Regions from separate parts of the Homo sapiens genome. Here regions 1, 2, 3, 4, 5 and 6 are each linked to region 7. The links are contacts of gene promoters, found by promoter capture Hi-C in blood cells and fetal thymus (Javierre and others, 2016). All regions are on one chromosome and are shown on one strand. The core of a region is centred on a gene start or on the middle of the fragment in contact, and the rest is flanking DNA. Distances in the headings are between cores, read along the strand shown.

Region 1 (3,198 bases), core at 117-2,616, 590 kb before region 7:
TTTCATGTAAAATAGAAAAGGTTTTCTAGGGAGACTGAAAGACTAGGAGCTACATAGAAGGCTCCAGTGGAGTTTTGGGGAGGACAGCACAGTAATGAATAGTCATTGTGTTTAAACTAGGGAGCAATGGAAGATTTAATTACTAAGTGTTCTGTAATGCAGTATTTTAGAAACTTTGTCTCAAGTTATATGCTACTTTCTGTAATTATAGAAATCTAATGTTATTTTATCTAATTTTGATCTGGGTGCAGACAGTGTCAACATCTTGGCTCTAGAATCAATAACATGTGTTCAGGTTTTGTGATTGGTAATACTCCCCCTCGGAAACCCCCTTTCTCCTGCATCATTCAGGCCACTACAACAGCAGGTGGATCTTCATGATGTTTTTTGTTAGTCTCTGATGGAGAAGAGACTAGTACAGTTTTGGCACATGGACTGAAAATACGTAAGATATAGTTTGCAAAGCCGGCATGTAGAAAAGTTCTGCCTTTGTTAAAAACAAAATCTTATCTCAATAACTTCAAATAATTTCACACAATTTCTTATGCCCTGAATGAGTCTTGGTCTTAGGTATGCATATATGACTTACCTACTTTTTTCCTGCTATTAGCCAAGATCTGCACCACCCCCCCACCCCCACCCCATGTCAGATACACTCAAATTTGCTAGTTTCCATACTAAGAGTTCCACCTACTCCTTTTACACTCAGGGGAAGGAACAAGTACTCGTTGTACTTTCCACTTTAAATAGAGAGCACCTGCCAATGCACTTGGCACATAAAGCTTGTGCTCAATAAATGTTAGATACTAATATACGGAACATAGTGGTCTTCGTACACTGCTAAGAATTACCAGTAGTCCAACAATACACTTCCTAGCTCGCTAATGACGTGTGAGTTTAAGAAAGGGCTCAAACCAATCAAGGGAGAAATTTCTTACATTAAAGCATTATACAAGGAGTGAATTCATTATTCAACAATAAATGTTCTGCTGGTTATTAATCCAGGTCCTGGGGATGGTATTTAGAGCTACCAAACCAGCTAACTTCCCTCAGTCATCTACTGCTATAACAGAGTTTGTGCAAGCACAGTTATAAAGACCATAAGAAGGAAGAAATCCAAGTTGTGCCAAGGCTACTTGGAAGAGAATTATGATGGAAATGTTTATTAAGATTCTCAATAAATAAAATGCCATGCATGGGATGGCTTATTGGTGAATTTGAGCTGTTTCAGGCCGATTTTCTTATAATCCCACATGTGCTCACCAGCTGACCCGTATCTTGATATCATCTGCTGGACGTTACTGAGATAATAAGAACATTCTCCTGGGATGGGAGTAGGGATACAAATCAGTTTTCTCAAAGTAATGTCAGTATGTGTGAAATTTACCATAACCACGGGATTGTCAAATATATATATATATATATATATAAAAGAGATAATCATTGGCTAATCTTATTTTTACAGTAAGCATGGGATGAAAAAGGTTAGTGTATTCATAACTACTATAAAAAACATTAAAATTATCTAAAAATATCATTACTAATGCTTAAATGTAAAGTTAGCACAGCAGTGAACACGAACATTTTAGAGTTGTAGAGGCTCAAGAAGTCAGAGTCCAGAATTTTCAGGCTGAGCAACACCAACTCTGTCTAATTGGAAACAGTAGCAATTAAAGTAGAGGACTATTAAATCCTATCAATATCTCTTTCAACCAATCATGATGCAATTTTCACTGTCAACTTTGTAATCTGTATTAAAGAATAATATCTTTTTCTTTATTGTGTTACAAGTGATGTCCTGTAGGTCATGTAAAAATTTAAAAAAAATAAAATGAGAATTAAATCAATTTTGTAGACAATTTAGTTCTTATTTATATCTACCAAGATTTTTCTCTTTTAATATTCAGATAAAGATAGGTTAGGGGACTTGAATCACACAGATAAAGCTTCGGTGTTTTACTTCATTGTGTTTGGATGAACATACACATATTAAAAGAAAAGACAGACATAATTTCCTGTCATTCATCTAAGGACAATTCAGACTTAATACATGGAAGCAACATTTTTTAAACAATCATTTAAAAAGCTAAGTGCTCCTTGAAAAACATTATTGACCTTTTTTAATCACCAGGGCTTGTATTCTCATCCTTATTTGCACTATTTGTACTGTGTACATCATCAGTCTTAGCGCATCTCCATCCTTGATGCCTGTTTATGAACAAAAACAGAGTTAAGCAATACCTAGTAAGTCCTTCACGTGTGTGGCCCTAAGCGTTCTGTCTATTAAAGGCAGCTGGATTTGAAACCCCGTAGGACCCAACTTGCAAAGATAAGGAAACTAATACAGGGTATGGCCATAAGCATTGATCCACCTTTCTGGGTCAACAGCTGCTCATCTGTTGATATCTCTGATGAAAGCAGGGGAGCATGACGAAATAGCCATGAACGTATCATGCATCACTCCTTCCGCCATCCCCACCCACAACACCAGAGGTTGATTTTTTTTTTTTTTTTTTTTTTTTGGAGATGGAGTCTTGCACTCTTGCTCCGGCTGGAGTGTGGTGGCGCCATCTCGGCTCACTGCAAGCTCTGCCTCCCAGGTTCACGCCATTCTCCTGTCTCAGCCTCCCAAGTAGCTGGGACTACAGGCGCCCACCACCACGCCCAGCTAATTTTTTTTGTATTTTTTTAGTAGAGATGGGGTTTCACCATGTTAGCCAGGATGGTCTCGATCTCCTGACCTTGTGATCTGCCCGCCTCAGCCTCCCAGAGTGCTGGGATTATAGGCATGAGCCACCGCATCTGGCCCACAGCTTGATTTTTAAAGGAATAAACTGCTGCACCCAAAGGATTGTTTAATTTTACTGAGAAAGTCCAAAGTTATAACAGCAATAAAAGTCAGAGTTTTATGGTAAAGAATCCATTTGGATTGTTCACGAAACATCTTTTTTCAGATTCCTCCAACCTGCTAAAATAAAGGATAGGAATCCATATATTTTGTAATAATCAAGAAAAGTACCATAGTGCATAGTGTTTCCTAAGGGAAGGCTCTGATGGAATCACAATATGCCATCATCAATGAAGTAACATTTCATCACATTCATTTGACGATGTTAACCCAGCTCAGTGGGATACCCCTTCATTTGGCCAGTTGACAGCTTCTGGTGGCTTCTTAAATGTGAAAGATGTATTAAGTTC
Region 2 (3,165 bases), core at 569-3,068, 640 kb before region 7:
TGGTGGCCCCAGGCCTTGCTTGGCTTGTAGACACATCACTCCAATCTCTGCCTCCATCGTCACATGGCTTTCTCCTCTGTGTCTTCTCCTTTTCTGTCTCTTAGAAGGACATTCACCATTGATTTTAGGGACCACCCTAATCCAGAATGATCTCATCTTAGGATATTTACCTTAATAAAATTTGCAAAGCATCTATTCCAAATAAGGCCATATTCTGAGGCTCTTGGTAGACTTTTTTTTTTTCAGGGGAGGGGGACACCACTCAAACTATTAAAACCTTTACAGCAACGTGACCGTGGATAAATTATACAATTATAAGTGCTGAGGATTCTTAATAAAAAATATAAGGATTTGAAATTAAATATTGCAAACATCAAGAAAATAGACACATATGTAACAATAATCCAGACTAAAGAAATGTCAGCATTTGTCATATTTATTACATTTTTTAACTTTTTTAAAAAATGAGATATTATAGATAAAACAACTCTCCATCTCATTCTCCTCCTACCCTCTCCAAATATAGTCACTATTCCTGAAGTATGTTTGCATTCATAGCAATTTTATTATTTTAGTATTGCATACTTGATGATGCAAGTAAAACTAACTTATTTTAACTGCTACATCAGAGAGTTTAGAATTGAAATTGACTTCTCTGAGCCTCAGAATCTTTCATAATATTCTTGCCCTAGCCACCCCGTAACATTATGATAACCAAAGGAAATGACTGTGTGACTGATCCACATACACTACATAGTTTACATGATTATAAGGTAGGATATTTCTTCTTTCTCCTAAAATGGTCACCCTCTTTGCTGATGTGCTGCAATTCAGTATGCCTATTGCTATTGTTTCTAAATCATGAAGATTTTAATAAATTGTCATCATACTTTCTTTACTAGCAAAGTGGATATAAATAGCCTTTATTAAAAGCTCTTACATTAATATTGGCATCGTCTTATTTTAACTTAACATGCTACAGAAACTTAGGTAACCCATTCTATCATCATATCCAACTGGCAAAACCAAAGATGTTTCTAATCTCTCACTTTCTTTTACTGGACCGTAGATGGTGGCACAAGCAATTGGCCTTTGTCATGCTATTTCCAAACACAGGTGGCATTTTAGCAAAGCTTCTTCATCTGGTCCCATGATACAACAAAACCAACGAAAGGCAGCTAACCCCTTTAAAAATAGCGTCATTGTTCAGGATTTCAAAGGTTGCATATTCCATGGATTCTAGTTTACATACAACATTAATTTCATTTAAACCTTGGTGTATTTTATCGTAATTGTTAAGACTTCTAATACTATCTTGGACTCCTGTTAATAAAGAATAAATGTACTACGTGGCAGCACCACCGTTTATTATGTATAACCTTGCCTATGTTTAGGTCACTAAATATAAATGTGTAAAAGTAAATAGGATTATATTAATTAGGATAAAATAGAGCCAAGGAAGAGAGTGGAGGTTGAGGTGGGGTATGAAAAGAGTGGAGTTGAGAGAATTTCACCAGAAACATTAAGTTTAAAAATACCACTTCCACTGAGCCCCAAAAATAATTCTAAGCTTCCTGGTAGCAAAAGCAAAGAGGGAATACCCTATATAATTAGAGTCATCTATTAAATGATAGCCTAATAGTTCTTGACAAGAAAAACTTTTCCTTTCTTGGCACATAAATGCCCAATAAATATGTCTTGAATAAATAAGAAGCAACTTGTTATGTAGACTTAGAATCACCTGTGCTTTCAATAACACCAACAAAAAATTGTTCATCATTATTTTTTATATCAACCTTTAAGAAAAGGCAAGAATTGAATTGTAGTTCTGTAAAGGTTTCCCCATGGAAGTCTAAGGGAATAAACTCCAAGTGACTTTCTAATACTCTAATTGATATAATGATAGAGATTTTGGAATTTAAAAGAATGACGAGTTAACATGTCACATGATTTTCTCTTTGAATGTTCATTTTCTTAGCTGGATTTTTAGCAAAGAATAAGAAGCAGAAAGGTGACTGGAGTATAAGTATTTTGTGCTACTGATCAAAATAAAAGCCAAAGCTTGAAATGTCAGGGGTATAGATGTTTGTCTTGAAGTGTTTGGTTCATACTAAAGGAAGAGCACTCACCAAGTGGTACTGTGATCCTTTGATTTACAATAGCTGCTCTTCCAAGCATATTACAGTTGAATATGCTTTAGGACAGGGCTGTTACTTCTTTATCTTTGTATCTCCATTGCCTAGCAAAGTGCCTGGAATTTATAGTATTCCATAAATATGTATTGACTCACAGGATGAAGATTTTTTGTTTAAAAAAGAAGTGGAAAATGCTAAAAGCTGATAATACAATGTCTAGACTTCTAACTAGGTTTTTCTGAGAATTTTATGTTAAACAAATCCAAATCCATGTACAAAACTGTCATGTCGATAGGCACTTGCAGAAACTATACATGGCGTTTTAGAGAAGGAGGAGGTCTAGACTTCAGTCTAGACAAGGTTAAGTCTAGACAAGACACTAGTCGTGAGTCTAAAGTAATCTTAGCTGCCTTTCAGGACATTGTCCAGCTCACAACCAGAGTCATCTTTTAGTCAACATTTTAGGTCCATTCCTCAATGTTTAACTCTGGCCAAGTGTTTTAGCCTCTTTAAATCTCATTATTTCATTAAAAAAAAAAAGAATGTGTTGAATCAGATGTTGTCTATAATTCCTTCTAACTCTAAACTTGTGTAATTCTAACTTTCGTTCTTCAATGACTCCTCTCTTTTTATAACTCTTTCAAACTGAACTTATTTATTCATATCTTCTGTAAATTGCTTGAGTAATTTATTTATTGTTTAATCCCATTAGAACAACACTACCTTTAAAATTTAGTCTACTAATAAAATGACAAAGTTATGTTTTCATTTATTATTTTCACACTTTTGAACTTTATTTTCATTATCTTTTATCACCATGCCATTTTGGAAAAAAAATATCTACTTCTGGTGTTTCTTACTTTTATTTCACCATGAAGATCATTGTCATATTTATGAATTATTCACTTACTCCATTTATATTATTCTCCAAAAACAGTTTTTACCACAATTGATATATAAATGAATTCCACAAGATTACATTACTAAGTGTGATTATATTGATCACAAGGGATAAGACCACTAATTATAT
Region 3 (3,362 bases), core at 320-2,819, 610 kb before region 7:
CTCGTAGCTCAGCACCTGTTTCTCGCAGTCTGCCCCACCACACCGGGCTCCCCCAGTCCCTCCAATGCCCATGCTGCTTCACGCTGCCAGCTTGGGACGCAGGCTGCTCTCCATGTCTGTGGTGGTCTTCCTTGGCTCTTCATTTGGCAAATGTCTATGAATCCTTCAGGTCTTGGCTTAGAGGACACCTCACCAGGAAGCCTTCCCAGAGCCCGAGACTGGGCTCAGTGCTGCTCCAACATGCTCTCCCATAGAGTGTGGTGTTTCTCACACCATATCATAGATGCTGAGGCTCAGAGATACAGGGATTGTACCAATCACTATATCTCTGAGACATGATGTCATGTCTGGTACAGGGCAGATGTCCAAGACATGCTTATTCAATGAGTGAATGAATGGATGACCAGACTAGAGCTATGAAGGCATTATTTTTCAATGTCTGTTTACCCTAAATCCTTACCTAAGTAGTTTTATGGAATTGTGTAGAGTTCCTCTGGTGTTAGAAATTATTTTAAGGCTTTGTGTGACTATTTCCAAAATGGTAGTTGGTAATAGGGTAATAAAACAAGAAGCTTCTGTGGTTAAATACATTTGTCAAACTCTGGCGTAAACAAAATGAAATAGATTTATCGCAGAAAAGTCTCAGAAGCTTCAAAATACTCAGATGAAATGTAAGTCTACAAAAGGGGGCTGTGTGAAGCATTGCCTAAGCTTTCTTGGGCCAAAGAACCCTTTCATAACATACACACCGTGCCAACACTTCTCACGGGCTGCATGTCCTGCCCTGGGCACTGCTCATGGCCCTGAGGAGAAACAGTGAGTGAATGGGATCCCTGTCATCAAAAAAATGGCTGTCCAGTCAGGACAAACAGACAATAAACAGCCCAACAAACACATAATCAAATGATCAAATACAAAGAGGAGTTTAAAAATCCTTTCATCAGTGCTGCTAAGAGTTTATGATAAAATAATTAGTGAAATCACGATTGGAAGGGGTGGAAGAGTGATTAGGGAAGTTTCATGCAACAGGTACATAAAGGTGAGAAGAAGCTGGTCTCAGCACCTCACACCTGTAATCCCAACACTCTGAGAGGCTGAGGTGGAAGGATCACTTGAGGCCAGGAGTGCCAGACCAACTTGTGTGGCATATAGCTAAATTCCATCTCTATACAATTTTTTTTAATTATCTGGGCATGGTGGCATACACCTGTAGTCCCAGTTACTTGGGAGGCTGAGACAGGAAGACTGCTTGAGCCTAGGAGTTCAATGTTGTGGGAAACCATGATCACATCACTGCACTTCAGCCTGGTTGACAGGCTGATAACATTACGTGGAGTGAGACCCTGTCTCTAAACAAGTAAAGAAAAAAAAATGATGAGACAGAGTCCTCAGTGCAAACATCTGAACAAAAAGTATCCCAGGAATAGGGAGCAGCAGGTGTAAGGGCCTTGAGGTAGAGCAAGCTCAGTGTATCCCCGAACAGAAAGGAAGTTCAGAGGGGGTGAAGCCTGAGGAACAAAAGGAAGTTATGGTGGGAGGTAAGGGCTGAGAGTCAACATAGGCCAGGTAGTACAGGGCCATGTGGTTCCAATTCAATATGGATTAAAACAGGAAGCCATTAAAGAATCTTGAGCCAGGGCCGGGGAGCGGTGGGGAACGTGGGTGATCTTTTTTAAAGATCATTCTGTTACCTCTTTTTGTCATCTTAAAATTTATAGTTAAAGGATGAAGAGAAATTTCAATTAATGAAATACAAACAAAAGTGGCAATGAAATCAACACATATTATTCTGACATCAAGAAGCAAATTGTAGCAGTGGCAATACTAAAAATTCAGATCATACAAAAGTTGTAACTCATTTAGAGGAAGAAACAAACTGCAAAAAGAAATAATAAATAACTTTTTGGACTGTACCAATGACTAAAGAGAGTAAATTGCATGAACACATTGGGAAAAGATGTGAGTTTCTCCCTGACTTTCACAAATATAGTGAAAACTCAAAATACACCACTTCCATGAGTGAATGGATGTTGTCAGTTCAAAGACTATGTAAGTTTAGTCATGGACCGAGAATGCTTGAAATGACTTGAACTCTTACAGCTCATCTATGAAAGAGACTCAGTAGAGGATTATCCGCATTTGACAACAATCCTAATAATCTACGTGTAACCAGAGATGCGTTGTGAAGCTAAAAGTAACTTTTCCAAATTATTTTAACCAACAATGCTGGAAAAAAGGCTGAATTATTTTTTTTCTATTTTCCCTACAGAACATACTTTTACGAAATTTTTGTTACATGTCAAGGCAAAATACAAGTAGCCCCCCGAACCCCTAAAAAAACAGGAGAAAAAATGTTATGAAGTTGTGTTAGGACATAAAGAAATCTTACTTTTCTGGATTTTATGTTTATAGCCTTTGAAAGCTTTTTAAAATGTATAATTTGTTATGTTGTTTCTGTCTCTCTAAACAAATATTTACTTTGGTATTAATGATATATTTCTAAGTTTATACTCTGTTTCTTAAAGAGGACCTTGCCAACCTGGGTCTATGCTTGCATGGAGGTGTGAGACAGTCAAGGAGCATGAGGAATTGGATGTGCATGGAAGATGAGCGACTAGAGATGAATAATGGACATAGGGAAGCAGAAAGGAAGACACAGGAAGTCCAAACTACTAAAATTGCTGGGCAGGGTGGTGCAAGCCTCTAATCCTGGCTACTTAGGAGGCTGAGGCGGGAGGATCCCAGACCAGCCTGGGCAACACAGTGAGGCTCTGTCTCAAAAAATAATAATAAAATAAAAATAAATTGAAATATCCTTTTGCAGATTTAAAAGTTACATATAAATTAAGAAACAGGTCAGAGAAGACAACATAGCTTTGGAGGGCTGAGCAGGCTATTTGAAAATAGTCTGGAATAAAGACCAGCCATATTTCCCCATGAGGCAGAAACTTTAACTTTTCTAGGCATTGTGATATTAACTTTCCTTTATAGACTCCACATAATGCATCATGAGAATAGTACCATCTTATCAGTTAAAAGAACACATACTCTAAAAGCATTTACTAAAATTTAATTAATAGCATTTAGTAAATTTAATTTAGCGTAATAAAACCTGATAATGTAGAAAGTTATTGCCTGGGTTTTTTAAATTTTTATGTCATTTTCCCTGAAAAAATATTAAAGAGCAAAGTAATGCCTATATATGCGTAATAGAATTAAAAGTTTCTAACAGAAAAACTTAAAAGGCATCTCTGAGGATTAAAATGTAGAGACTATGATCATATTTTAAAATTTATATTTACTTATTTTTGAGTAAACAATAATATATTTACATGTTTCATAAATCAATGAGAACAAAACTT
Region 4 (3,353 bases), core at 217-2,716, 540 kb before region 7:
AAAACATAAATATTCCTAAATAGAAGAGCACAAGTGTAACACACCAGAATCAATTCCCTGCTTCTTTGTCTAACAATGAGTTCCTACTCCCTGCCTTCCCCAGGCTAGAAAAAAACTGTCAGACAATACCAGCCTAAAAACAGTGCATTTGAGAATTCAACAACTCAGGGGTAATTCAGAACAAACAAGAAATGTATCAGCAGAAGTCTAGAGAGGGAGAGGCTGGAGGGATGTTCATACGCACACACCACCCCCATCCCCTAGTTCCCCTTCAACAGATGACAGGAAATAAACTTTTTTTTTTCCTTAGCTGCTATGCACATAAAGAATATGCACGCAGAACTAGGCCTCAGGAGAAAAGTCGTGCTGGATCTTAATTCATGGTATGTGGTTAAACATGTTTTCATGTTGTCAAAGATTAAATAATTAGGAGAACATGGTCAAGATCAAAAGGCAGCACCATGTCACAAGCAATTAGGAGGCTCCTACAGCTGTGACAACTAGGGATCCCCACTGGTATGGTACCTGCTTTAGCAAACCATGTGGGCGCAATATGAAGTCTAGATTGGGCACTTCAGGACTTTTCATTTAAATCTCATTAAGAGGGTTGCAATCCAATAAATACAAAAATAACAGCTAAAATGGGTTTTAAGTTCAGCGCAATAGAAGAGGGGAGAAAAAGAAAACGCAAGTCAATTGACTGTAAATGAAAAATCTTTTCTGGAAAAATTCTAAATCGAAATGTATCACACGTCTTAGAACGGATCTCCAACCCAAGATACATGCAAAATCCTTTTTTCAGTGTACGTTCTTATGAAGAAAGACACATGTTGATGATTCAAGTGAGTTTACAAAGGGGCGTGTAAGTCATCATAGCAATATTAAGTGGGTTTTTTGTAGTGATCCTATCTGTTGCTGAATTTTATGGATTAGAATGTCAAAGCGTGAACCAGAGAATCTCACCTGAGAATCCCTCTACAGTAAAATCCTTATGAAAGTGAAATTTGGCAATAGGGAAACAGCACGAGTAAGTCTAAAATGAAACATTAAAATGGTCTGATTTTCAAACCTTAAAGTTAAAATCAAGCTTTAAACATCTCTGTGGTCTGACCTGGGCACCAAACAGTTTTTATCCCCAAGTCTTCCAGAGTGTGTGGGGAAGTCTTCCATTGTCTAGGCTGGGGATCCCATGCAGGAGAGCCACACACGCTGAGAGGAAGAACTGAAGAGAACTGCTAATAGCCCCAGATGTGGCCTAGTCCACACAATCCAAACACGCGGGTCTGCCCTGGACCCAGCTCGGTTCAGGAAATCACAGAATTAAATGGCGATTTTACTCTGTGATTTCTCACCATAAAGCTTCTATTAAAACAATGTTCACATGGTTAGTTTAAAACATTTCTGTGGATAAGAAAAGCCTTGTAACCCCCAGGCCAGATTATTTGTGGATACCACTAAGGTCCCATCAACAGCCCAAATGGCTCTTATCTGCCCTTGGCAGGACCTCATTTGGCCCCATTCTGAGGTCCTCTCATTCCTCCAGCATCCTCCCGGAAGTCACAGAGAAGCTTCTCATCTGCCTTGATATCCTGCACTTGGGTGGGGCTTTGTTCGAGGCATGAACTGCTCTCCTTTTAGACTATCATCTCTAAGAAAATAGCCAGGCAAGGAAGGACTGCCCTCATCCCAGGCCACACGGACTGTGGCCCTCGAATCACAACACAGCTGCTGCTGCCCACTTACATGTGACTGAGTGGCCACTCAGTCCCTGCACTAAACTCAAGGCTGTCGCCTGCTCTGTGGCTCTTCACTGCTCCAGAATTCTCTCCAAGTCCACTGTGCCTCTTTAGACAGCGGCCATGTCCCCAACGCTACCCACTCCCTGACACCTGCCTCTGTCCTCCCCTCCACTTGGCTTGCCTGGCACACCACTGCCTGGGGCTCCCGGTCGCTGTGCTCTGCGTAACCTGCCTTTCCACAACGAGGATACTTCAGCCCCTCATGGCATAGCTTTTAGAGTTTTGTTGTTTTTTGTGAGACAGAGTCTTGCTCTATCGCCCAGGCTGGAGTGAAGTGGTGTGATCTCGTGTCACTGCAGCCTCCGCCTCCTGGGTTCAAGTGATTCTCCCGCCTCAGCCTGAGTAGCTGGGACTACAGGCGTGCGCCAGCATGCCTAACTAATTTTTGTATTTTTAGTAGAGACAGGGTTTTGCCATGTCGCCCAGGCTGGTCTCAAACTCCTGACCTCAGGTGATCCACCTGCCTCGGTCTCCCAAAGTGCTGGGATTATAGGCATGAGGCACTGCACCCAGCCGAAGCTTTTAGTTTTTGCACAACTCTGTCATCCCTACAGTGTGCACTCACCTAAAGGGGCACTGGCTCTGAAACGACTCTCACAGCAGGTGCGGCTCCATCATCCTGCAGGCCCTGCTGTCAGAGAGCCGCTCCTCCCTGCTGGCTCCTCTCCTAGGGTCCCACATGGTGACTGCCTTAATGTCCCCTGACACCTCCACACAGACACAATGGAAACGTCTCCCCTGACCCTGCTTCTGACTCACTCGATGAGTCTGAGATATTGGAGCAGAGATGACCACAAAGTTAATGTAAGCTGACGGTGCGATGTAACCACTGAAAACGCGAATGCTGCCCTAAGCTGAAAACCCTCGTGTATGGCACCCGGATGGAGAGAAGGAAAAGTCCCATGCAGTGCACCGCCCGTGCCCATGCCCACTGCAGGGCGCCATGCTGGGCTCCAGGAAATACACTTTTCGAGGACAATTTGACTATGATTAGTTTAGAAGGAGGTAACTTGAGTGGTGAGGAGCTAAAAGCAAGCCTGTTTAATGAGGGATTGAAGGAACTTGGGGTGTTGACAATGTGGAAATGAAGAGGAAGCATGATTCGGCTCTCAAAGAGGAGAGGGTGCCAAGTCTGTGAAAGATCGCCTGGTTCTGTGTGGCTCAAATGGGAAACCCAGCCAAACATCTATCAAATTCAACGTATTAGCAATGTTTTCTATTCCTTCTCCATCCTTCTCATCTTTACCTAACCCCACTGTTTTTCATTCTTTTTGTTTCTAACAATAAAGCTGCCCATGAAGGGACTCTGTGGCCTGGAAGGTGGTGACCTCCCTCTAACTGGGACTGTTCAGGCACGGGTGGACAGCATCGTGGAAGGGCATTCAGGAAAATACCAGCTTAAATGAGGCAGGAGCCTGGACTGGAAAACTTCTAACATTTGCTCAAGAGCCCAGATCCCAGGACCTGAAGTGTGACTCAGAGCAGCGTCCCCAGGCTGGTGTGCAATGACACATTTCAGAATGTGTCCTTTCCATGGTCTATAAGTATGTTCCT
Region 5 (3,125 bases), core at 157-2,656, 570 kb before region 7:
TATAACCTACCTTTAAGGACTCTGCTGGAGAATTGACAGGTAGGGATGGCAGAGACTCCAGTCAACACTGCCTGTGCTCTGCCAGGGTGTGCAGAGCCGGGTAGCAGCAGGGAGCTGGTGGGAGGAGAGGGAAGGCTGCTCTGCCCGAACTGGGGCAGGGATCCTGCATCTCTCACAATGATAGGGACCACTAAAAGAGTCCAGTGACAAAGTGAGAATGCCTCACTCACATGCTGTCCCCACATCAATCATTGTTCCCTCTCATCCAATAAATAGGTCTTGCCAAAGTTACTACTACACTGCGAAATATAATGTACTAGCAGCAACAGAGCCTACAGATCTGCTTCATACACTTACAGATTCTAAGAGGGCATCCTGAGGCCCTGAGGCTGACTTTTTAACAATGCTGTTATTATTTGATCAACAGCTATTTGTAAAGAGGGAGATAGATAGATACATACATACATACATACGTAGATACATATGTAGATACATACATTCACAGATACCTATGTAGATACGTACATACACGGATACACAGATACCTAGATAGATAGATAGATGATAGATAGATAGATAGATACATAGATAGAGGTTCATGATAGATGATAGACAGACAGACAGACAGACAGACAGACAGACAGATAGTATATGTGTACACTGTTCCCTGAGGCTATGTTTATATTTCAAAAGGCTGAATTCGAAATACCGAGTAACAAAAATCATAAATGAATTCTCATCTTAAGTGTGTCCAAACTTTTACAGGGTGAAGCAATTTTCTCTTTTAGTTTCCCAAAGCAATGTGGTCTCGGAATTTAGTGCTGGCTTCTAAGAGATTTTGGGGCCTCACTCCGTATGTCTTGAATTGATGTCTATGGAATTTGGTCCCTACATTCATATTTTAATGTAAGAATACTAAACTTTGAGAATCTGCTCTTAAGCCTGAAAAGCCTTTGACAAGGGCTGGGAGATGGGCTCAAGTCCCCTGAGGCCTGAAATACAGAGGCAACCACTGACCACACCCCGTGCTCCCACTCCTCCAAGGACACCAGAGAACTGCAGCCACGGGCCTGGCTTTGACTGTGAACTGGCAGGAAGGTCTACAGATAGCCTTTCTGATTTCCTCAGACTCTAAGGCACTCGATTTTTTCTGTTTGTTTTAAAATATTTTAAAACCCTCACTTACAGTTGCAATTGGAGGTAATCGAGAACCATGTAAGTATTAATATAAGGAAACTGAACTGATAGATGTATCAAACCAAAAGCAATAACACACACACACACCTTTAAGAAAAGCAGTGAAAAGGGTATTGGGATATATTTTAAGGCCTTAGAGTGAAGAGCAACACGAAGGTAAGTGTCAAAAGACAAAATGACAACAGATTTAGTTTAATGAGCTCATTGGCTTTGATTTGTGACTGTGGAATCCAGCAACACCTCATTCTATAAAACAGAATGGGTGTTCCAATGAACGAAGCAGAGGAGTTCAGCTTCATAAGCAGAAAAGAGCTGAGGAGAGCAGACATAGAGAACAAAAAGCAACTGGTCATTTATTTCAAAGTTAACCTCCTTAGGGCTAAAGGTTGACTGGAATCTTCTGGTTTGGGGGAAAACTGGCCCATTTCAAAGTTCCCTTTGATGAGTGCCACTTAGCACCAGCAACTCCGTTCTGATTTGGTTTGATCTGCTGGATCCCAGTCCAGCAGCTCAGTCCCATAAACTTTGTTCAACACAAGTAAAATGAAAAGCGGAGTATTCTACTGCTCAAAACCACCTCAACCCAGAAAGGAGCTTCTGTGAGAATCACAAGGCTTGGAAATTCAGGTTGGAGGGTGGGATTTGCGGGTGAGGGATGAAGTGGAACAGAAACAAGAAGCCGGAGACAAGAATGAAAATGGTGAGATGGCCTCCCCTGTGTGGCTTCTCACAGCTGGGTCTGGCTAGGCCCGCGGTCCCCCAGCTGAATCCCTTCCACCCTACGAAGGGCTGACAAGGGAGAGGAAATGGGCGAAAAAGACGGGAGGAAGGGTAAATGGAGCAGCGCTGAGTTCAGAGGGGACCAACTACTGGGGACTCTGAGAGTTGGAAGCCCACCCAGCCATTCTCAGATCCCCTCTTTAAACCTGTTCACAACCTCGGCAGCCACATCCCCTCAGGGGAAAGCTGTGTTAAAACTGGAGGTGTAAGATGAAGACAGCAGCCTAATTAAGCAGATCACAATCTGTTCCTGCCTGGGGTCACCAGTAGGCCACTTCTAACCTTTCTGTTCAATGAGTCTGGGGCTCTGGGGAGGCGGGGCAGGAAGGCAGGAACTAAACACTTCAGATAACCCATGGCCACTCTAGTTCTCCACTCACATGTTAATTAGGAAACCACTGGAATTATAGCTTTGCCGGCTCTTAAATCAGTTTCCACGCTTAAAAGTTCCTGAAATTCTGACACCAGCGCCCTAAGATGGAAGGCCTCTTAGCCAGGCTGGCCCAGGGGTGTTCAAATGGGCACCCGTCAAGCAGCTGAGATTTATATAAATGAGGGCATTGTGTGTTCAAAAGGAGATTGGTATGTTTGATCTCGGCTGTTATTGATTTACCTTTTCCACATGATAACATTCATTAAGTCAGATAAGTAAATGTTGATGTGTTCCCTTTCAATTGTCAACAGCTAAAACATAGAGCAACCATCACACCCGGTGTAACTTCCATCCATTATCAGTGGGCTGAGACCAAAACTGTTTTCCTACCTCACCATTACCTGAGATGACTTATGACTCCCGAAACAAGAAACTGCTCTTATTTTTCTTGACTTTCTGTGTGCATGGGTTTGCATTGCAGTTCAAAGGAACAAAAGCAATAGAGAAAGGAAGCTACACCACGACAGTTTCTCAAGGTGTTTAACGCTGGACTCTACCAGCTAATTAAAATCTACACTGACCTACAGGGAGGTTTCTTTTCAGTGAGCCCTTATTTATTTAAAACCCTAAAACTGCGGACCCTCAATAATTTGGAAAACCAGTAACTTTTTATAACAACCCCATGCCTAAAGTAACTTCATTGTAACTGAATAGTGTTGATGATTCAGTCAGTTGAATTTCTATCTAGTAATTTTTTAAAAATCAGGCTGAGATG
Region 6 (3,068 bases), core at 484-2,983, 540 kb after region 7:
CTACGTGAAATATTGGGGGTGAATTTCGGCCCGATATCTCGCTGAATTTTCCCCCGATACATGCCCAGCTAATTTGTGTATTTTTAGTAGAGACAGGGTTTCACCATGTTGGCCAGGATGGTCTCAATCTCCTGACCTCGTGATCCGCTCACCTCAGCCTCCCAAAGTGCTGGGATTACAGGCGTGAGCCACCGTGCCCAGCCTTCTTTTTTAAAAAAGTAGAAGAAGCAAGTCACAGAACACATACGATAGGGTTCAATTTATGCAGTTTATTCAATTTGGGGGGAAAATAGGAACCCCTCACCTAAAAATACTGTTTAGGGAAACAAACATGAGTAGTAAAACTATAAAGAGAAGCAGGGGGAAATAAACACTAAATTCAGTTTAGTGTTACCTCTGAGGGTAAGCTTGGGTGATGCAATTTATGAAGGGCATCCACAGCTTCTAAGATACTGGTAATATACTCTTTCTCACTAGGAGGAGTGTGTTTTTTATTCTTTACATTGTAGCTGTACATCTTAGAAACTCTTTTGTATGTGTGATTTAGATTACTCTTTTAAAATAGTTATTTACTTACTTACTTTTGAGACAGGGTCTGGCTCCGCTGCCCAGGCTGGAATGCATTGGCATAATCTCAATCTCAGCTCACTGCAGCCTCCGCCTCCTGGACTCAAGCAATCCTCCCACCTCAGCCTCCCATGTGGCTGGGACCACAGGCCACACCACCATGCCTGGCTAATGTTTTCTAGAAACGGGGTTTTGCCATGTTGCCTAACTTGTCTCAAACTCCTGGGCTCGGCAGGGTGTGGTGGCTCATGCCTATAATCCCAGCATTTTGGGAGGCTGAGGCGGGCAGATCATGAGTTCAGGAGATGGAGACAATCTTGGCTAACACAGTGAAACCCTGTCTCTACTAAAAATACAAAAAATTAGCCGGGCGTGGTAGTGGGCACTTATAGTCCCGGCTACTCGGGAGGCTTAGGTGAGACTCCGTCTAAAAAAAAAAAAAAAAAATTCCTGGCCTCAAGCAATTCACCGCCTTGGCCTCCCAAAGTGCTGAGGTTACAAGTGTGACTAACCACACCCAGCCATAAAAAATTTATTTTTTCATTGTGCCTAGAATAGGCATGCATGCAGAGTTGCATGCAGGCAATGTTTGTTTTTTCAAAAAGATATTTAAATTTTCTCCCCAGTTCTATGATTCTAGTATATCTTTTTTTTTAAAATTTTATTTTTCTGAATAAAGAAGAATTCTAGGATGATTCTAGTATTATATCTTTTTCAAAACCTCCATAATATAATAATACAGACACATGAGGGCACTCTAATCAATCCATTAAAGGGAAAACATTGAAACTATGAAAATGAAGAACTTCACAACCTTTTATTGGTGATACTGGGGAGGGTTCATTTCTTAGATATAAGCTCTCATTTTGGGACCTTTCCAAATAACCAGCTCTCATCAAAATGAAACTTTCCGACATCTTGAGGCAGTAGAAGTGCATCTATATTTTAGAATACTTGGAATACTTTTTCAGCAGCCCTCATTCTACCTACATGGACTTGTAAAACCAGCTCTGAGTTGCTCCTGAAATTGTAATATTTAAGGGTATGCATCTTTCCTTTCTTTTTAGAATTTACGTGGACAAGTATTACACTTCTAAGTAATATACCCAAGGGAATTGAAAGCAGGGACTCAGGTATTTGTGCACTAGTGTTCATAGCAGTATTATTCACAGTAGCCAAAAGGTAGAAACAATCTGAATGTCCATCAACAGATGGAAAGATACACATAGAATGGAATATTCAGCTTTCAAAAGGAATAAAATTCTGACACGTTACAACGTGGGTGAACCTAGAAAACATTATGCTAAGTGAAATACGCCAGACACAAAAGAACAAACATTGTGTGATTTCATTTATAAGAGGCACATAGAATGAACAGGCAAATTCATAGGCAGAAAGTAAAAGAGAGGCTGCCAGCGGCTGGTGGGTACGTGGGGACTGGGAAGTTATTGCTTAATGGGTACAGAGTTTCTTTTTGAGATGATGAAAAAATTCTGGATATGGATGGTGGGAATGGTTGCACAACATAGTGAACATACTTCAAGTCACTGAATTGTACACCAAAAAATTGTTAAAATGATAACATTTATGTTACATACATTTTATCACAATTTTAAAAATTAAAAAAAGTGAACATCTGAAGTATGTGAAAAATAAGTCATCAGACTCTCTCCACTCTTCTTTTTCTACTCTCTCTCTTTTGTGTGTCCTAGCATTATGAATCTAGGAAAAGGCAGATTCTCCGAATTAAAATCAGAAATATGTAATGAGGAGTTCTAAAGAATATGCCTCAGTCAATCACTGCAACTCCATGGCATTCTCTGCTGTTAATATGAAGAAGAATGACCTTTTAATGGCAGGGAAATAAGTGAACACTATACAAAATTTGTTTCTGGAGAAGATTTAATGAAATGTATTATCCATAGAACTATCTGGTTGTTTATAAAAGTTGTGGATTATAAATTTGAATCTCTAGGGGATTATTAATGCTTTTCAAATTCCTCTCATGACACTCTTTCCTTCAGGTGTATCTGTAGGCGACAAGGGGTACAGCATTTATAAGCACAATATTTACTGGGCTCTGTTTCCCAAAGGGTTGTATGTGAACAGTCTCAGTAAAGCATCTACTTGTTACCAAGAGTAAAGGCTGGGCGCAAAGGCTCACACCTGTAATCCCAGCACTTTGGGAGGCTGAGGCAGGAATATCACTTGAGTCCAGGAGTTCAAGACCAGCCTGAGCAACATTATCAAGACCCCTGTCTCTTAAAAAAAAAAAAAAATTAGCTGGGGTGGGACGTGCCTGTAGTCCCAGGTACTCAGGAAGCTGGAGGTGGGAGGTTTGTATGAGCCCAGGAGGTCAAGGCTGCAGTGAGCCGTGATTGTGTATAACTGTACAACTCTTTTGCTTAGACAACAGAGTGAGACCCTGTCTCAAAAAAGGAGTCGAAAAAATATATAAATTTCCATAACAATCCTAGAAGAATTAAGCTTACAGATAGTAC
Region 7 (3,393 bases), core at 554-3,053:
TGGAAATTTAAAAGCAGAGGTTATCACTTGATAGCTGGAAGGACAAAAACCCCTGAGCGCCCTGCCTCTTCCCAAGTCATTTTCCCCCAAGCCTCTGCCCCTGCTTTTCACGGAGCCTAAAATATGACTTTAGTCCTCCCAACAGGACAATCCGTCAGCAACCTTCGCCTATGGGGCTTTCAGACCCTCACAGGGGAGAATAAACAATGCACTTAATATACAATTCAAGTAGTATACTTACTAGAGGAAAGGGGGAAAGGAAAAAAACCTTAATTTGGGCACAAGATACCCACTGCCTTCAAGAAACTGCATTAAGTTCTTAGTAGTTAATGATTAAAGCTTTAAACTCGTGCAATCAGTCCATTCAAAAGAAACTTCCTAAACCCGTGTATCTGATGCAAAAGAACTGGAAACTTGTATTATATTTATAAATTATGCCCCCCTTTAAATTAAAAGTAGGGGGCCTTTCAGTGTATACTTGCATCAGTGCCAGCAGCAGATCTGCAATTCCGGAGGCATTTTTTTTTCGGAGCTGGCAAGACAGAGAGAGAGAGAGACAGAGATACAGAGAAAGAGGGGAGGAGGGGAGAACCCTTCCCACGTCCCCCACCCGGCCACCACCTTCTTGGTAGTTATAATTTCAACATGTCATCTCATGGACACTAAAGGGTTAATGGTATACCTACCAAATCGGCTGTGGTCTTTCCTGGTTCCCTGGATAGTACCATTGGGGAAGATTTCTAAGTGAAATCCAGTCCTGCAGTATAGCTGCCTCCGCCTGAGAATCCCCTTTAAATGATCCAAGTCCGTGACTGCGGGTCCCCTGGGGAGCCCCCCTGCTTCGGACTGACCCAGGTGGTCACTTAACAAAACCGGGCTGTCCACCGGCAACACGGGCACATTCCCAAACGGTACCGCATCCTGCACACCGAAATAGTTCCCAACTTCACCTAAGGGAGCCATCAGAGGACTCGGCTTTTGGAGCACAAGAATAAACAATAATGATGGTGTCAACCCAGGAGATATTAGGCGAGGTATATCCAACTCCCCTCCCTTACTGCAGTTGCAGAGAGAGAGAGAAAAAAAAGGTTCTTTTCTTCAATCCATTAAATGCATAAATAAAAGTAATCTGCTGTTTCACTGGCACAGGTTCAAGGTCAAACCACTGATAGTCTAAGAAACCACCACTTTATACTCACACACTGACATATTGATAAACATATCTATGTATCTCTATAGATAGATCCCCAGCTCTTAGCAGGCAGGAAGGTCTTCATCCCATCCGACCGTAATAAGGAAAAAAAATCCGTAGTTTCTCCATTTGGTTTGAGATCAGAATGACCATAGCAACTTAAATGCCTAGGCGTTATTATAGGGATTTTTAAGATGCACGGGCTACGTCAGAATTTACGGATCCTGACTCCAGGAAGGCATGCGCTGTTTTTACTCTCTAACCGACTCTGCAGACATCAGCATGAATCCTTCAAGGGGAAAAAAAAATCTCACGTTGGTGGCGGCGACAAATCTCCCCTCCCGGTCCCCCCTCCAAAAAATGATAATAATAATAAAACAAAAAGAAGAAGAAACTTTAGGCGTCCAAAGCTAGTATCCAGGATTCTCCAGAGGCTCGGCAGATGTCCATTGGCTTAGAACGGGTGGCGAGCGGCGAGCGAGGAGAGCCGCGTCCGGGAGCTCGCGTGCCGCCCAGGCTGCCGCGAACAGGTGTTGCCGCGCCGGCTCGCGGAGCGTTGTAGCCGGGCGGAGCGCTCCTCCTGCGCAGCCCCCGCCGGCGCGCAGAGTGGCGCAGGCAGCGGCATTGGGCTGGGTTTAAGGTAGCGCCGCCGCAGCCCGGGCTCCCCGCGGTCCTAGCGCCCGGCTTACTGCCCGCGCCGCTCTGCGGCAGGCGAGGTGCGGCGCGCCAGAGCGCAGGACTTCCTGGGAGGCAGTCGAGGAGCCCTGGCTTTACAAAGAAAAGCAAATGAAAGATGCACTGCGAGAGGCGGGAGGAAGAAACCCTGAGTCTCCCGAGACTCAAAGTTCTCCTGCAGAATAGAAGCCGGTAACCTACAATCTAGCTGGCTGGCTACATTGATGGAGGGTCAGAGTGAAACTGGGAAACTAGTTTTCACTGGGGCTCTGTAACCTTGCGTTGTATTATAGAATATGACTGAGTTGAGAGAGTCGGAGGGAAGGGGAGTTGATTTAATGGACTCGGATGGCCATGGCAGTTTCTCTTCCATTCTTCGGCCACACACACAGAAGCGCAAACTATGTTTCAGGTAAGATCAACTCCTCTCCCCCGTCACACACACACACACACACACACACGCAGATGCGGCCACCGTTTCTGTTTTGTTTGGAGCGTTCTGCTGGGCATCTTTGGGTTGGGGCTATGTTTAGGTCCCGCCCCGCTGCTCGGGTCCCGGCGGCCGCAAAGCAGTCGGCAGGGGGGCGCCAGAGAACCTTCTCTGTCCCCGACTTCGACTCGGGCGCGCGTCTTCGGGAGTCTGGGTGGAGGGGAGCGCTCCAGTAGGCGTCTTCTCGCCCTCAAACCACGCTGCTTAGGACGAGCGGCGCCATCCCAAGCCGTGCATCGGCTCGGGGAAGCGAAAGGCGAGTTCTGGTGTCTCACTCCACCGTCCGAAGCCCGCCGCGGAGCTGGGAGGGCCGGGCACTGGATGCTTGCGGGGCGCCCCGGGGCTGCAGCCGCTCCTTCCTGCTCTGCCCTGCGGGGCCGCACGTGGAAGCCTGAGCTCCGTTGCGCGGGCTCGGGTTTCTGTTAGCCGCCGGCGGCCTTCGCGCCCAGCGGGAGTCAGGGACAAAGAAACCCGCCTCCGGGGGCCGCCAGGGGCCCTGCCGGGCCGGGCCCGCCAGAGAGACTGGAGGCGGCGCGCTCTGCGCCCGGGACAGCCTGCCTGCGCCCGGATCCCCAGTGGCGGCGGGCGCGGAGCGCGGCGCCCCCCAACACACACACACACACACACACACACACACACACACACACACTCGCCCACAGCCCTCCCGCGGGGCCCCCCTTCCCTCCCCCTGCTCCTCTTTGTTCACATTGTCTTAGAAACGGCCCGACTCTCGGGTCAAGATGGTGAAAGTTGCCGAGACTTGAGCGCAGCTCCACACTGCGGGGCGTGCAACTGAGAAGCAAAGTCGAAAGCAGAGACTGAACCCCTGCGGTGGGGAAGCGAATCAAAACCTGGTTATGGGGGAGAAGTCGGATCCGCCTTAGTAGTCAGCTAAAGGCTGGAGATGCATAACTGGGGCTGGCCCTACTCCGGACGGGAGGGCTTCGCCTGAAGACGAAAGGGAGCGATGAATTTGCAGATTTCGGGGGCGCTGGAGGTGCCAGCGACCTGGAGCGACCTTCCCCTGCCCTCCGGG

What was found. The method cuts DNA at HindIII sites, captures the fragments that hold promoters and counts their contacts. A CHiCAGO score of 5 or more calls a contact.
Region 1: a fragment that was not itself captured here is called in contact with the fragment with the promoter of FGF9 in region 7 in 9 of 17 cell types (naive B cells, naive CD8 T cells, total B cells and 6 more); the score reaches 8.1 in naive B cells.
Region 2: a fragment that was not itself captured here is called in contact with the fragment with the promoter of FGF9 in region 7 in 1 of 17 cell types (naive CD4 T cells); the score reaches 5.2 in naive CD4 T cells.
Region 3: a contact is called between a fragment that was not itself captured here and the fragment with the promoter of FGF9 in region 7, in 11 of 17 cell types (naive B cells, total CD8 T cells, naive CD4 T cells and 8 more). The highest score is 21.1, in naive B cells.
Region 4: a contact is called between a fragment that was not itself captured here and the fragment with the promoter of FGF9 in region 7, in 7 of 17 cell types (naive B cells, naive CD4 T cells, total CD8 T cells and 4 more). The highest score is 7.6, in naive B cells.
Region 5: a contact is called between a fragment that was not itself captured here and the fragment with the promoter of FGF9 in region 7, in 8 of 17 cell types (naive CD4 T cells, total CD4 T cells, naive CD8 T cells and 5 more). The highest score is 7.7, in naive CD4 T cells.
Region 6: a contact is called between a fragment that was not itself captured here and the fragment with the promoter of FGF9 in region 7, in 1 of 17 cell types (activated CD4 T cells). The highest score is 5.1, in activated CD4 T cells.

Annotation. Positions count from the first base shown.
Region 1 is chr13:22,263,320-22,266,517 of GRCh38, reverse strand. All of the region lies in intron 1 of LINC00540 (long intergenic non-protein coding RNA 540), which reads right to left. Among named protein-coding and RNA genes, the nearest start is that of LINC00540, 55 kb to the right of the region's middle. The HindIII fragment of the contact is 1,164 bases long and covers 785-1,948 here.
Region 2 is chr13:22,308,170-22,311,334 of GRCh38, reverse strand. No RefSeq gene overlaps it. Among named protein-coding and RNA genes, the nearest start is that of LINC00540, 99 kb to the right of the region's middle. The HindIII fragment of the contact is 491 bases long and covers 1,573-2,063 here.
Region 3 is chr13:22,282,514-22,285,875 of GRCh38, reverse strand. No RefSeq gene overlaps it. Among named protein-coding and RNA genes, the nearest start is that of LINC00540, 74 kb to the right of the region's middle. The HindIII fragment of the contact is 1,711 bases long and covers 714-2,424 here.
Region 4 is chr13:22,211,289-22,214,641 of GRCh38, reverse strand. The region is part of intron 1 of LINC00540 (long intergenic non-protein coding RNA 540); the gene reads right to left. Among named protein-coding and RNA genes, the nearest start is that of LINC00540, 2.7 kb to the right of the region's middle. RefSeq lists a silencer at 2,293-2,472. The HindIII fragment of the contact is 209 bases long and covers 1,362-1,570 here.
Region 5 is chr13:22,243,137-22,246,261 of GRCh38, reverse strand. The region is part of intron 1 of LINC00540 (long intergenic non-protein coding RNA 540); the gene reads right to left. Among named protein-coding and RNA genes, the nearest start is that of LINC00540, 34 kb to the right of the region's middle. The HindIII fragment of the contact is 7,702 bases long and covers 1-3,125 here.
Region 6 is chr13:21,132,268-21,135,335 of GRCh38, reverse strand. No RefSeq gene overlaps it. Among named protein-coding and RNA genes, the nearest start is that of SAP18, 6.3 kb to the left of the region's middle. The HindIII fragment of the contact is 2,647 bases long and covers 410-3,056 here.
Region 7 is chr13:21,669,483-21,672,875 of GRCh38, reverse strand. It overlaps FGF9 (fibroblast growth factor 9), which reads right to left and starts at 1,803. Exons shown (of 3, transcript NM_002010.3): 1 at 687-1,803. The coding sequence starts at 963. RefSeq lists silencers at 1,816-1,875, 1,896-1,945, 2,726-2,985. The HindIII fragment of the contact is 3,792 bases long and covers 342-3,393 here.